2 separate regions of the Homo sapiens genome follow, and region 1 is linked to region 2. Evidence: promoter capture Hi-C in 16 types of primary human blood cells and fetal thymus (Javierre and others, 2016). All regions are on one chromosome and are shown on one strand. The core of a region is centred on a gene start or on the middle of the fragment in contact, and the rest is flanking DNA. Distances in the headings are between cores, read along the strand shown. Region 1 overlaps GEN1 (GEN1 Holliday junction 5' flap endonuclease). Region 2 holds the start of OSR1 (odd-skipped related transcription factor 1).

Evidence for each region. Contacts are between HindIII fragments. The CHiCAGO score rates a contact against its expected background, and 5 or more counts as called.
Region 1: a fragment that was not itself captured here is called in contact with the fragment with the promoter of OSR1 in region 2 in 1 of 17 cell types (activated CD4 T cells); the score reaches 7.4 in activated CD4 T cells.

The regions. Positions count from the first base shown.
Region 1 is chr2:17,760,290-17,763,261 of GRCh38, reverse strand. GEN1 (GEN1 Holliday junction 5' flap endonuclease) reads right to left here. Exons shown (of 14, transcript NM_001130009.3): 3 at 1,680-1,866. Among named protein-coding and RNA genes, the nearest start is that of GEN1, 7.6 kb to the right of the region's middle. The HindIII fragment of the contact is 904 bases long and covers 1,092-1,995 here.
Region 2 is chr2:19,357,229-19,359,928 of GRCh38, reverse strand. It overlaps OSR1 (odd-skipped related transcription factor 1), which reads left to right and starts at 1,306. Exons shown (of 3, transcript NM_145260.3): 1 at 1,306-1,588. RefSeq lists enhancers at 1,434-1,962, 2,628-2,700. The HindIII fragment of the contact is 8,359 bases long and covers 1-2,700 here.

The sequences.
Region 1 (2,972 bases), core at 294-2,793, 1.6 Mb after region 2:
TGATAGTCATTAGGGTGGAATATTCACTAATTGAAAACTATTTTTAAAAGTGAGTAGAAAATAAAATTTCAGAAGAGGAGAAAAATGGCATAATTTTTTAACTAAAATTAAAAAGAAAAACAAATTCAAAGCAAATATGATAGAAGCTTATATCCTTAATACATAAAGAACTTGCACAAAAGAAAAATTAAAACCTCAAGAGGTAAGTAGGTAAAGGACATGATGATAGCCATTACCCAAAGGGAGACTAAAAATAGATGAAATGTTTAACATTACTATTAAAAGACAAATGCATATTAAATATCTTTGTTGTTGCACACTAAATATTACAAAGACAAGCCTCCTAACATCCAATGTTCTTGTGAGTGCACCGACACTGCTTCTCTGACATCTGCATTAGCAGAAATTAATCAGCAAGAGCAATAAAATCATTCCAAAACTTTGACCCATCAATCCAACATTGGGTAATTTTATCTAAAATTTCAAATCACAAGAAAACATTATATACACAAAAAATGTTAATCACACTTCCATGTATAGTAGAGAAAAACTAAAAAAGTAAATAACATATACAATCAGGGGTATGATTCATAGCTTCATACATGTTGCACAACCACTACAAGTTATGATTTTGATTAGAATGTGACAAAAGGGAAATATGACAACATGAAGCATTAAGTGAAAAGGCTAGGTTAAAAATCATGTGTACTACTACAACTCTTTAAAAATACACACATTTGAAAACAGACAAAAAAGGCCAGGCACAGGGGCTCACACCTGTAATCCCAGCACTTCAGGAGGCCGAGGCAGGCGGATCACGAAGTCAGGAGATCGAGACCATTCTGGCTAACACAGTGAAACCCTGTCTCTACTAAAAAAAAAACAAAAAAAACTTAGCCAGGTGTGGTGGCGGGCGCCTGTAGTCCCAGCTACTCGGGAGGCTGAGGCAGGAAAATGGTGAGAACCCAGGAGGCGGAGCTTGCAGTGAGCCGAGATTGCGCCACTGCACTCCAGCCTGGGTGACAGAGCGAGACTCCATCTCAAAAAAAAAAAAAAAACAACCAAAAAAAGAAAACAGAAAAAAAAAAGCTTCCTATTGTTTTAATTATATACTATAGATGATTTCTTTCTTAAGTTTCATACAAATATAAAATATAGCAATATTAAAGTAACATATAAATAATATATTATAATGTAACGACAGTTTTTAAAATTACAAGCCCTAAGGGAAGCCAAATATATATTCTGTATATGAACTATCATGAATTCTGAATGAGTGAAGTACGAATTAATGAGATCTCATGTATTCTGGGACTTCTTTAAGTCCTGAAGGTGTTATAAAAGGTAATATGATCAAGTTCCTACCATGTACTAGTTGCTTTAGATATACTTTCTCTTATTTTTATCACATCCCTGCTGAGTATTACTGTTGTCATTTCACAAGGTAACATACAAGGTAGAGATAGGTTACAAATTTTGCTCAGTGTCTCAGAGTTTCTACATACCAGTGCCAAGAATGAAACTCAGGTCAATTTCACTCTAAAAAATAAACTCTTTTCTCTAGGCACATCCCTGCTAGTCACAATAAAATTAATAAGTATTAAAGATGACAAACTATTAAGAGTAAAATGCACCCTTTAATTCAAATCGGAATTACTGAATCAAATCTGAATGCTCACCTCTCTTAAGACTGATTTAAAATGTGATCTCCCTGTTTTCTGAGACCACGATTTTCCAGAAGACCCATACCGAGACTGATTCCTCTTGCTTATGACATCAGCTTTCAGCTTTGGTGGTTCCCCTTCCATAACAAATACCAGTTTTACATCCATTTGTGTTAAATATGAGATACGAAAAAATAAGTTCCTGAAATATATAAATTAGTAATACATTAATCATCAAACACTGATAGTAAAAGTCAAAATAGTATAACACAAAGGCAAGAACATTAGACTAGTATCAAAAACGTTAATGTAATAACATTTTACTTAAGCTTTAATTAGAGTGGAAAACCACTGAATTTTCTTTTTCTTTGACAGAGTCTCACTCTGTCACCCAGGCTGGAGTGCAGTGGCATGATCTTGTCTCAGTGCAGCCTCAATCTCCTGGCTCAAGTGATCTTCCTGCCTCAGTCCCCAAGCAGCTGGGACTACAGGTGTGTGCCACCATGCCCGGCTAATTTTCTGTATTTTTTGTAGAGATGGGGTTTCACCATGTTGCCCAGGCTGGTCTTGAACTCCTGAGCTCAAATAATCCGCCCATCTCAGCCTCGCAAAGTGCTAGGAATACAAGTGTGAGCCACTGTGCCCGGCCAAAACCACTGATTTTTTTTTTTTTTTTGAGGTGGAGTCTCACTCTGTTGCCCAGGCTGGAGTGCAGTGGTGTGATCTCGGCTCACTGCAACCTCCACCTCCCAGGTTCAAGTGATTTTCCTGCCTCAGCATCCCAAGTAGCTGGGATTACAGGCATCTGCCACCACACCCAGCTAATTTTTTTTTATTTTTAGTAGAGATGGGGTTTCTCCATCTTGGCCAGGCTGGTCTCAAACTCCTGACTTTGTGATCCACCTGCCTCGGCCTCCCAAAGTGCTGGGATTACAGGCGTGAGCCACTGCACGCGGCCAAACCACTGAATATTTTTAAGCAAGAAAGATTTATGATTATTCTAATTGCTATGTGGAAAATAGTCTGGGGTAGGGGAGGCCAAGAGCAAGAAACTAGTGAAGATGGCACTTCAGGAGTATAGATGAGAGATGAGGTTGGCATAGACTGAGGTGGTGCCTCTGGACACTGAGATAAGTTTGTGAACACAAAGTATATTTTGGAGGTAGAACTGGCAAGACTTACTGACGGATTAGATGTGGAGAGAAGTAAAATAGGGAGAAAATGTCTCCCAAATCTCCGGCTTTTAGTATCTGAAGCATCCTAGTGGATACGTTAAGTAGGAGATAGCTATGTGAGTCTGGAGCTCAA
Region 2 (2,700 bases), core at 57-2,556:
ATCTCCCTAGGTCAGGTATTACAACCTTCTTCACCTCCCAAGAAAATCAGATTAGCTTTGCAAACCAAAGCTGGAGATAGCAGAAGCTCCTCGGGAGAGAAGCAGTACAGTACTTAGGGACCCACGGAATCTAGGATCCAGCTCCAAGAGTCACTCAGCAGCAACTCTGGGGCAAAGGCAGAGAGTGCAGTTGTGTGATCTGGACCCACACAAGTCCCAGGAAACCAGTGACTCCTCCTTGCCAAACCCAAGGCCTGGAAGGGTATTCCAGAAAGGCATTAGGGAGGGATTGGGCTGGGGTCAGCCGGAGGTCAGCTTTCAGAGATGGGTAGTCAAGGGGGTGATGGTACCCTCCATAATGCCTAGGCAATGAAGATAGAATTTTTAATGTCCAGAACTCTGATTCCTTTCCGATTAAAAACTCCACCTGAACCAGCTCCTTGACTCAGAGGCCCTGGAACTGACAACTTTGCAGCTCGTCTAGCTTGCCAGTGCGGCTCTCTAAACTCTGATCCATCCTAAAACAAATATGTAAGTAGAGAGTGCCACTGTGCATTGGGGTGAAATCTCAGAGAGTTCTGGGCCCCAGGAAAATAACTTTCCTGACCTCCTTTCCCTACTCTTTGTTCTTTCTACTGGACTCCAGAACTTAGGGTCTGGGGTCAACCATAAGCACTCAGATGTTACAGCTCGCTTGCTTCGGTGACCCTGGCCCTCCCGCACCAGGAATTAACCAGCGCTGCCTGGGTTAACACCCTGGCCCCGAGCACGCTTGGATAGCCAGGAGCTGCTCCACACTCGGGGTCTGCCGCCTCTGGAAAGAGATTCTGGGAGGAGATGCGACTCTGTCAGGCGCCAAAGTGCGTTGAAACCCAAGCCGCGGTGTGGGGATCCCGGTGCACAGAGCTACTGCCCCTCCCTCCCTCCTCCCAAAGAGCACGGGCTGTGTCCTAGGAGCCCAAGTATAGGACCTCGAAACGTGCGGTGCCAGCCCGCTCTCATCTGCTAGGGACCGTTTCCTCCAGTGCGCCAGGCGTGCCGCTCTGGACCTAAAAAGGCAGCAGGGGTCGCGCGGGACTGAAGAGGAGGGGACGCAGGTTGGGAGAGGCCGGGTCCAAGCGAGAGCAGCTGCCAAAGTCTGCTGCCCGGGTCAGCAAAAACTTTGTCTTTCATTGCGCAGGCGCAGGGCAGGGTTGGGGGGCAGGGGAGGGAGGGGAGGAATCCTGAGGCAAGGGGCGGGGGTGGGGGTGGTGGAGGAGGGAGGGTGGTGGATTAAAATAAGTAGGCGGCTCGGTGCTAAGGGATGAGTGAGTCGGAGCTCGGCCTCTCCCCGGCACGTTCTCAGCTGCTCCTGGTTCAGACCCAGCGAGGGAGCCGCGAGCGAGGCTCACCGTCCCCGGCGTGCAGGATCCGGGGCTGCTGAGCGCTCGCTCCCGCGTGTCCGGCGCTTGGAGTCCCCGCGGCAGGAGAGGAGTCGGGACACTAGAGCTCCAGGGGCGCCTGTGGGCTCCAGGGCCTCCGGCTTCCCCAGTCCCCTTCAGCTAAAGCCCCAGAGACGTGCTCAGCCCCAGGACCTCTGCGGAACAAGGTAATTGCAGTCCTGGGCGCCTGGGCTCAGCAAAGCGAATGCGGGCAGGACTCCCAGGTTCCTTGTCACTGCTCGGCGGGTGCCTCCTCTCTCTCAATGCCCCTGAAGGAAGCTCTTGCCAAACGAATGCTGTAGGACTTTTGTGAAAGTGAGAGCAGGGTGGTTGGGGGTGCTGCCTCAGGACTTCCTGCGCGGGGTCCTCGGCCTCTGACCGCTGGGGATTAAGGGGGGCGGGCCTCCGCTACTGCGGCCAGCCCGCCCGGCTCTGCGGAATCACGGGCGAGGTGCCCACGGACTTTGAAAGTCAATCTGTGGGCCCCCTTTAAGAAACCAGAGCAACTTCAGCGGGCACAAACTTTCCTGAGACGCGCTCCTAGCTCTGGCTGACGCCCAGGTTGACGAAGAAGGAAGGGAGAGGGAGTGAATGGCCACAGCCGCAGCCGACCGCGCCAGGGACAGGTGCATGCCCCAGCTCGGTAGCGCTTTCGTTCAAGTTTGTCTTTTGAGGAGTTGCGCTCTAGTATGAGGCCGCCTAGACCCGAGAGCGCAGGGCTGCGAGTCTGAACCCCGCCTTGCACTCGCGCTCTAACTTAGGGATATTCTCCATAGGATGATTGCTCTGTGTCGTCAAGGCCTGGAGCGGAACCCTTGATTGTCCTGGTGCAGGGAGGCAATGCAGTGGGCGCAAGCACTGCTTTCCAATTCGAGACCCACACACAGCACTAGTGGAAACTCTGTGGAGCCCTAGGGTCTCCGGGCTGGGGACAGGAAAAGTTCTGTTACTCCCCTGACTGTCCGCTAATCCAGCCGTCAGGAGAGAAAGAAGGGGGAAAGGGGTGAAGGGCTGCCTGCTGAACTAATTTCTCCTCGGAAATGTCTCGGAGAAGAATGAAAAACCACGTTTAGTCCTTTTTCAGCAGCTCAGGCAGTAGCGGGTTGGGTTCTCAATGTGTAAAGTAGCCGCAAGGGTTTCTTTGTTGCCACAATTTGGTAAATTTCACCCAGGCTAAGAGCTGCGCATTGGCTCTGCGGAACAAAACCACGTGCAAGGCTAGGTGTCCCAGGTTCACAACCCCCTAGGGAAGAGAAGCGCTGGAGGGGACTAGCAGCGA